Linked DNA regions of Homo sapiens: regions 1 and 2 are each linked to region 3. Evidence: promoter capture Hi-C in 16 types of primary human blood cells and fetal thymus (Javierre and others, 2016). All regions are on one chromosome and are shown on one strand. The core of a region is centred on a gene start or on the middle of the fragment in contact, and the rest is flanking DNA. Distances in the headings are between cores, read along the strand shown. Region 1 overlaps SH3KBP1 (SH3 domain containing kinase binding protein 1). Region 2 overlaps SH3KBP1 (SH3 domain containing kinase binding protein 1). Region 3 holds the start of MAP7D2 (MAP7 domain containing 2).

Region 1 (3,035 bases), core at 434-2,933, 500 kb before region 3:
GGAGTGCAGTGGCATTCCAAAGTAGAGCCATTGTTGAACGTCTTTATACAGAAGGATAAATACATCATGGCTCACTGCAGCCTTGACCTCTCAGGCTCAAGCAATCCTTCCACTCAGTCTCTCGAGCAGCCAAGACTACAGGCATACTCCATCATGCATGGCTAATTTTTTAATTTTTTGTAGAGTCAGGGTCTTGCCATGTTACCCAGGCTAGTCTCAAATTCCTAAACTCAAGTGATCTGCCCGCCTCGGCCCTCCAAAGTGCTGGGATTACAGGTGTGAGCCACCACGCCTGACTGGCAGTCACTCACTCTTTTGTAATACAACGAAGTCATGACCCAGAGTGGAACTACTTACAAAAAATCCTGGCTTCTTAGCAGGCAACAATTTACAGGCTTTGCTATACTAACTTTTGCTTTTTTCTTTTTACATACTATATAACTAGCAACAAGAAACTGGGTGGATAACACACAAAAAAACAGTAAACACATTTCCTCTTGGGGATGCCAATATTAACTGAAGCAGGTATCAATGCCTGAAAACTGTACTCAGAAACACCCCTATGTCTTCTTCAAGCCACCTCACATTTTCCTGCTTCTTCACAGATCTAGTCATTTGCGATTATATTATCTCAACAGTTGCTGAGCAACTGTGCATGCTGTTGTTCAAAGACTGGATTTTGTTGTCTTCCCTGAAAGAGTGTTGAGTTCTGCTATGGTAGGCAGGTTACTTGCAGGTCAGCTTGACTGGTCAAGGCTTGGGTTTTTAGGCTTTGTTACAATGGGTCTAGGGTAGTGCTGTTCCTGTGGCTGGCTTTTCTGGGTTCTCAACTGGATGCCAGAAGTTCTCAACACGAGGATAGCACCTCGTGTTTTTCTACTCTGCTTAGCTAGAACTCTAACATCTCCCATTACTGGTGATCTCTGGGATATCCACTCAGCTCACAGCCCCTCCAAGTTCTTATTTTCTGCCAGGCCTCGTAGAGTCTTGCCCTACTGATGCCTGGCTTAGTATTTGGCCAAATCATCTAGATCTATACATTTCTGACACTCTTTCCTTGTGTAGCTCATTCTTTTGCAGTTCCCTGCCCTGAAAATTTGAGCCACCCCAGCAGTCCTGAATTACAGCTTGTTTCCTCTATCCAATAAATGAGTCTGCTACTCTTTGTTTGGGCTCCACTGCCCTGTGCTGCAATTTAGAAAGTGCCTCTAGGCAAAAAGCCAGGGTTGATGTAAAACTCACTTTTATGCTTCCCTTGTCTCCAGGATCACATTCTTGTGATATGTATTGTCCAATGCCTAAAAACAGCCACTTTGTATGTTTTGGCCAATGTTAGAGTTGTCTATGACAGGAAGGCAAGTCTAATTACCCTTTACTCTATAATAGCCGCAACCCCAAGTTATATATTCCCTCAAAAAGATTGTTTCTTCATTTAGACTGGACTTTTTCATTCTAGATATAATAGAACTTTCAGCTCTATCTTTAAAAGTCTGAGCTATTTCAAGGTCTAATTCCCAAAAGAAGTCCTAGAGAAAGAATGTGTGAAATGAAGACACATACAAGGGTTTTTAATTATCCTGGAGTTTCCTTTGCCAGTCATATGTTCCTTTCTCTAACAAGGAAGGTGAAGTATTCCCTAAAGTAGAGCCATTGTTGAACATCTTTATACAGAAGGATAAATACATGCAGTAAGTTAGTGCCACCTAGCTTTTTTCAGATAATGGCGCACACATAAAATAGTAGTTATTTTTATGACATACTGCTGGAGGCCAAAGGTTGTTGAAGGCCATCAGCCCAGAGGGGTGATTCCGGCCAGCTAAGGCCCTTCCCATCCACCCTGGAGAGCTGAAGAAATCACCACCCTACCCTCACAGCACATAGGTGAGGAAATGCTACAGAAGTAACCTTTGAGTTCAGATGTCATTAAGAAATGAGGGGAAAAAACAAAAACAAAAACAAAAAAACCTTAAACCAAATCTCAGTCCCTAGTAAGAGAACAGGACTTCCACAGGTGTTCAGTGTCACGAAGGCAGGAATCAGGAAGGCCCATGGGGATTTTCATAGAAGACAACCAAGGGCAGAAGCCCTAAAGGCCTCTGTGTGCTCAGCCTGTTTTCCTCTTAGAAAAAGATGTTTCTAGGGCTAGGCGCAGTGGCTCACGTCTGTAATCTAAGCACTTTGGGAGGCCAAGGTGGGTGGATCACAAGGTCAGGAGTTCATGACCAGCCTGACCAACATGGTGAATCCCCGTCTCTACTAAAAATACAAAAATTAGCCGGGCGTGGTGGCACACACATGTAATCCCAGCTACTCAGAAGGCTGAGGTAGGAGAATCGCTTGAACCCAGGAGGTGGAGGTTGCAGTGAGCCGAGATTTTGCCACTGTACTCCAGCCTGGGTGACAGACTGCGAGACTCTGTCTCAAAAAAAAAAAAAAAAAAAAAAAAACAGTTTCTATCTGGAGCCTCTTCAGAGAACAGCACCCAACAGATGCTGCCATGCTGGCCCAACTCCAGGGTGACCATTCATATTTGGTACTTCCTAGAGTTGTGGAACATGGCTATATAGTTTGTATACAAAAAAATACCAGAATTATTTATTGATTTCATAATTTCCTTTGCAACATATGCAATCTAAAGTCTTCTAAAAAATGTTTATGCTTTAGCCTTTTTTCTAATTGTGGAATGAAAGAATTTCTACTCCCATAAGTCCACTTCAAGGGTCAGTAATTGGCCGGGTGCAGTGGTTCACGCCTGTAATCCCAGCACTTTGGGAGGCTGAGGTGAGCGGATCACTTGAGTCTAGGAGTTTGAGACCAACCTGGACAACATGGCAAAACCCCATCTCTACAAAAAATTAGCCAGATGTGGTGGTATGCCTGTAGTCCCACCTACTTGGGAAGCTGAGGTAGGAGGATCACCTGAGCCCAGAAGGTCAAGGCTGCAGTGAGCTGCGATCACACCACCACACTCCAGCCTGGGTGACAAGAGTGAGACCCTGTCTTAAAAAACGAACAAAAAAAAAAAAAATCGGGCA
Region 2 (2,921 bases), core at 310-2,809, 470 kb before region 3:
TCAAACTAATAACATTTGATGATTCCAGGGGAACATCAGGGATGAAAAAAGCTTGATGTTATTCTGGCATCAGGTCAAATTTGATGAAAAACTGTTCTTAGAATTATTTTGAAAAATCAGGTACCGATAGTAAAAATAGCAGCTCTCAAAGTGTTCATTTCATTCACATTCCTGTTCACACTTCTAGCAGCATCCCTGCCAACATATTTGTTTTTCCCTTTGTGGGGCTGGAATAAAGCATCACCATTGTTAACACATTAGGAAGAGGAAAACAAAAACAACCAGTGCTTCTGGTATCACTGAACAAAGAATTCAGGAAAGGCAATAGTAAACACTGTCCCTACTCCTGACTTTGTTTGCTTCCCTGAAAAAAAAAAAAAAGGACACATGTAACGGTTTGGGCATTAAACCAACAGGTTTAGAGAGACCTTCAACAGGTTGCACATTTTTACAACTTCCCCTTCTTTAGTAACAGAAGAAAGTATTGCCCATCATCTTTGATATCCTGGCTTACCAAAACTTCCAAGCTACCAGACATCAAGCAAGGCCACCAATTCAATGCACTTACTTTGGTACAGAAGGACACAAAAAAGTAAGGCTCACTGTGGTTTGTTTCCTTCCTATTTCAGAAAACACAGCACACTGGCCTCTGCATGGATCCCAGCGACAGGGGTGATGGTGAAGCTGGTATTATCCTCATCTTCTGGGAAGTGCTGGCCTTAAATCTTCCCTTCTCCTTCATGGGCCATAGTTAAAAGTCTAGAATATGGCAAAGTTTCTCCCCATCTCAGCCTGTTCCTGCCAGTGCTCCGGAGATGGGAATTGGCCTAGTGTTTCTCTTGTCTCTAGGACCCAGACCTAGAGAAGTGTGGTCCCTGCACCAGCAGCACCTGAGAACTTGTTAGTAAAGCAAATTCCCAGGCCCCACCCCAGGCTTTCTCAATCAGAAACTCTGGGGATGGTTCCCAGCAGTCTCTAGGAACACACCCTCCGTGGGATTCTGATGCATGCTCACATTTGAGAACCACTGACCTAGATGTGGGAGGGAGTCCATTAGTATTAATCAAATGCCTTTTCTTGGATTAAAACTTCAGGGGCCTATTCTCATACCTAGATAAATTATGAAACATCTTTTTAACTCTTCTCCCTCTCTTCTCTCTCTCCTTTCCCACCAAACACATCTGCCTTCTCTATTCTCACTGGCCTAAGAACTTGTCATTGCTACTAAATGACTCAGTTCAGAGAGGAACTTGAGTACAGTAGATCAGACAATGTGACAACATTGCTGAGGGAAACATGGGGGAGGATAGTTGGCCACTGAAGGGATGGGTAGGTGGAAGGAAGGAGGAGGACAGAAAGAAAGAGAAAGAGGGAAGGAAAGAAGGAGAAGGAGGGAAGGAAGGAGAAGAAGAAAGGAAGGGAAGAAGAAAAGAGAAGGAGGGAAGGAAGGAAGGAAGGAGGGAAGGAGGGCAAGAGGGAGGAGGGAAGGAAGAAAGTTAGAAAGATGAAGGAAGGAAGGAGGGAAGGAAGGAAGGAGGGAAGGAGGGAGGGAAGGAGGGAGGGAAGGAAGGAAAGAAAGGAAGAAAGAAAGGTGGCTTTGAACCAAAACTGGAAGGCTGTATCTAGCCTCTCTGGGGACAGACTGCCCAGAAGGCTAAGCAGGCAGACTCTCATGACTGTATGAGCCTTCATAGAGGCCCAAATCCTGTTTCTCCTTCTCAGTGTTACCCTTTACTGGCATTTTAGGTGAGGTGTTTCTTCAGGTAGAAGACTGGCTCACACATTAAAGGACATTTAGCAACCCTTGCCACTACCCACTCAAAGTCTATAGTGTCCCCCAGTCATTGCATGTACCCTGAACACCACACACCTTTCCAAACATCCCTAGTTGAGAACCTCTAGCCCCCGCCCTTCCCTACATACAGGAGCAAAGAAAAACGGTGGTGAATTATTGCTTTCCCGTCAGCCTTCCAGCTTCCCTCTACCTCTGAAAACATCTTTGGCTAATTGGGCTTAAAATGAATAGAATCCCAAATTTCAAAGGGCATGCCTCATGAACGCAATGTCTAGCTCCAGTACACAGATATCTCATGGATAACTGAAGGTCAGCTACACTGCAGGGCTAAGTGGACAGAACAATCAGGAATCGCATCCATACATCTCTCCTCCAACTAGAAGGCAACAAAGAGGGATGTTAGGCTTGCAGTGGCTGGGGAAGAGGATACAGGATCTCCCCTTTGGCTTCCTCCACAGTGTTCTTGCTCCCCTGAGTGCCTTAAGGAAGGTGGCTTATCCACGACAAACACCAGCCATGCACTAAGGGGCTGTGTTGACATGCTCAGGACACAGCCCATTCACCTCCCGGGGGATCTGGAAACAGACCCATTTTGCCATATGACTTTATAGAACAGACTCTCAGGTTCTTCTCCCTAACTTGGCCCATTATTTCCTCTTCCTTCTGTGAGGCAGCTGAAGACTTCCCAGTACACACACCCACATTAGTCAGATCTGCTTGGTCTGGGAAAGGATGTGCATGTGGTTGGATGGATAGAGCTGTATCTGTATCACTGTGGATCTTCTTCTACACATGGTAATTACCAGGCTGCTGTCAACTTTTGTCTTTCTTGCCACATACCTATCTCCATTTAAAACCTGACTTTTAAAAATCAATAATTCAGAAAGTTCATTCCTTTGAACATTTAATAATGTAACTACCTCTCCAATTTGCTGTCTTGCCAAAAGCACTAAATAAACGTTTCAGGATTTTCGTGTACAGTGGGAGTATCATATGTACTCCTAGCGCTACAAGATCCAGTGGTACAGCATCAAGACAGATAACCACCATATGATTTCAGTTAGTGGAGCAACTAATTTGTTTTCTCTGCCAAAATGAAGAAACTAATGCTTACGGGAAAGGCAAT
Region 3 (2,762 bases), core at 97-2,596:
TCCTGTGACAGTTAATGAATTCTGCCTTTAAAATAGCATAATGAAAAATACAAACTGGAAATGATTTAAGCTATCTCCTCCTCCTAAGAATGATGCAACTGAAGGCCCAGTCAGAAAATACTACCTCGCCCCCTCAACCCCAGTGAAAAAGCGTGTTTTAAGAAGATTTCTCTTGATTTCTTTCCTTTTCTTGGCCCATCGTATATAAAATACTCCCATCTTCACTATGTGATAATTCATCGAATTATAGTTTTGTGTGGTTTTTTAAATGCATATTAGACTGCAATAAAAAATGTTTTAAAAATAGCCTGCCTTATTAACTAAAAATAAAAAAGTTGTTGTCAGGAAAAACAGCATGAAATCGGTTTCCATGCTGCTTACACCCCCGCACTACCTGCAACCACTTTACAGAACGTTAGCATCAGACCTGCTTATCTAAAATCCTGCCAAATGTCCTCACAGTCTCCTCCGCTGCCTCGCTGGCTTCTGGGCAGCCAGGGACCAGCCCTCCATGGCTCCCAGCATCGGCAGCCTCGAGGGCTGAGAGCCTTGTTTGCCCCGCTGCCTCGATTGAGGGCCGCGGCCCGGCCACCTGAGCAGCGTTCCCAAGACAGGGAGCGCATCCGGGCGGGAGGAGCACCCGGTCCGGGGCAGACGCCTGGCCGCCCGGGCGAATCTGCCTCTGCCAATGGGTGACACGCCGATTTTGCCCCCTGGAAACGCCAAGAGGCGCGAAGCTGGGCCACCTTCGCCGCGGGCTGCAGCGGCGCTCGCGCGCGTTTCCCAGAACGCAGAGAGAGCGCGCGCGGAGGCCGGGGCAACCCCAGAACCCCGCTCGGTTTATCCTAACGACCCCCATGCCGGCTGCTCCTCGAGGACGGGGACTGGACCCGCAGCACCCCCTCAGGCACCTCCATCCCAAACACACCTGCCGCCCACCCTAAGCCACCCCCCATGTGTACCCACTCACCCAGGTCGCCCCAAGAAAGAACCCCGCCACTCGCACAGAGAGGGGTGCGGCCCTTGGATGCACGTCCGGACGATCCTGGGCCAGGGAAAGGGCGTTTATCTCAGCTCTGCGCCGTGCCCCTTCCCCCCACGCTCGAGGACCTTTGCCCTGGGCCGCCGGGCCCGCCCCCCCACAGGAACCCGAAGCCCTCGGGCGCCCGCCACACTCTGGGGATAATACCTTGAGGCCGGTAGTTGGGCTGAGAGGTCCGCACCGCGCCCGGTTCTGCGATCTTCCCTGGGAGAGAGGTTCCCCGCGCAGTCCCCTCAGGCCGGGATCCCGTCCCGGAGCCGCCGCCGCCGCGCTCCATCGGGATGCGCCGGCCGCACAGGCGCACTGCCAAGCCCGCCGCGCCGCACCGAACCCGCGCGCGTCCGCATGCGCACGCGTCCTCACGCAGCACGCGCGCAGGGCGTGCACGTGCGATAAGCGCACCGGTTACCACGCACAGCGCACGCAAGGCGTGCACGTGCGATAGGCGCACCGCTTCCACGCACAGCGCACGCAGGGCGTGCACGTGCGATAGGCGCACCGGTTCTCACGCGGCGCGCGCTTGTAGCGTGTGCATGCAATGTGCACAACAGTCCTCACACAGCGCGTACGGGCGTGCACGCGTCCTTACACGCTGCTGTACACAGTGCACACACAGAAGGCGTGCGTACGCACACAGTTCTTCATACGATGCTTACATGCAACATGCACACACAACGTGCACACCCAGCGTAAATGCATCTTCTCACAGTAGCAGATACACACTCAAAGCGTGTGTAGATGTAGGGTGCAGTTTCTCAGACACCGTGCACACACATCCTCACTCAATGTGTGAACACAGAGCACATAACGCGCACACACGTGCTCACTCAGCACGCACACGCTTACACTCACTGGGTGTCTGCATGCAAACTCAGCAATGCAGCCTTGGGAACAATTTCTGGCTAGGCCCCCAGGTGGGTGCCAGTTGGGCCAGTGACATCTGTGCAGACGCCAGAGGACCCGCCCTCCATGCATAGTTAGGTTCCAGTTTTCGAGGCGCACGGGTAATCAGTGTTTAGTGACGCCCCACCCTCAGCGTGCGGTCACCCAGAGAGGGACAGCAGCAAGCTATTGGGGTCGATCTTCAACTAAGAGGCAGCGGCACGCGCCGTAGGCCGACCTAGGCCTTTCAACGACACCCTACTCCGCAGCCAATTTGGTTCCTCTTCTCCTGAGGCGTAAATAATGCTGACTGAAACCTCCGCGATGCCGGGTGTGGTGGCTCCCGCCTGTAATCCCAACACTTCGGGAGGCTGACGCGGGCGGATTGATTGAGCTAAGGAGTTCGAGACCCCCGTCTCTACAAAAAAATTTTAAAAATTAGCTGGGCATGGCGACTCATCTGTGGTCCCAGCTACTTGGGAGGCTGAGGCGGGAAGATCGCTTGAGCCCGGGAGGTCGAGACTGCAGTGATCACGCCACTGCACTCCAGCCTGGGCGACAGAGACCTTGTCTCAAAAGCAAAATAAAACAAAAAACCTCTGAGGAGGATCTCTCCGAGAAGACACACAAGAAACTGCTAAACGGGTTGCCTCCTAAGTAGGCACTTTTACCACTGCCATGCACATTTATTATCTTTTCAAAAACATTGAAAAAGACATCTTGGCAGGGCCGGCTCAAGCCTTTTGTTTACCCAGGCCTGCCAAGTGATAACCCGTTCCCATGGAGCCCCAGGCTGCATGTTTTTTCTCGTTGGAAGGTGACCAGCCTGAAAGTTTTA

Evidence for each region. Contacts are between HindIII fragments. The CHiCAGO score rates a contact against its expected background, and 5 or more counts as called.
Region 1: a fragment that was not itself captured here is called in contact with the fragment with the promoter of MAP7D2 in region 3 in 4 of 17 cell types (naive B cells, total B cells, total CD8 T cells and 1 more); the score reaches 7.6 in naive B cells.
Region 2: a fragment that was not itself captured here is called in contact with the fragment with the promoter of MAP7D2 in region 3 in 1 of 17 cell types (naive B cells); the score reaches 6.1 in naive B cells.

What each region holds. Positions count from the first base shown.
Region 1 is chrX:19,615,964-19,618,998 of GRCh38, forward strand. All of the region lies in intron 8 of SH3KBP1 (SH3 domain containing kinase binding protein 1), which reads right to left. Among named protein-coding and RNA genes, the nearest start is that of MAP3K15, 100 kb to the left of the region's middle. The HindIII fragment of the contact is 5,174 bases long and covers 1-3,035 here.
Region 2 is chrX:19,646,910-19,649,830 of GRCh38, forward strand. All of the region lies in intron 6 of SH3KBP1 (SH3 domain containing kinase binding protein 1), which reads right to left. Among named protein-coding and RNA genes, the nearest start is that of MAP3K15, 130 kb to the left of the region's middle. The HindIII fragment of the contact is 3,020 bases long and covers 50-2,921 here.
Region 3 is chrX:20,115,561-20,118,322 of GRCh38, forward strand. It overlaps MAP7D2 (MAP7 domain containing 2), which reads right to left and starts at 1,347. Exons shown (of 17, transcript NM_001168465.2): 1 at 1,190-1,347. The coding sequence starts at 1,319. The HindIII fragment of the contact is 4,441 bases long and covers 1-2,762 here.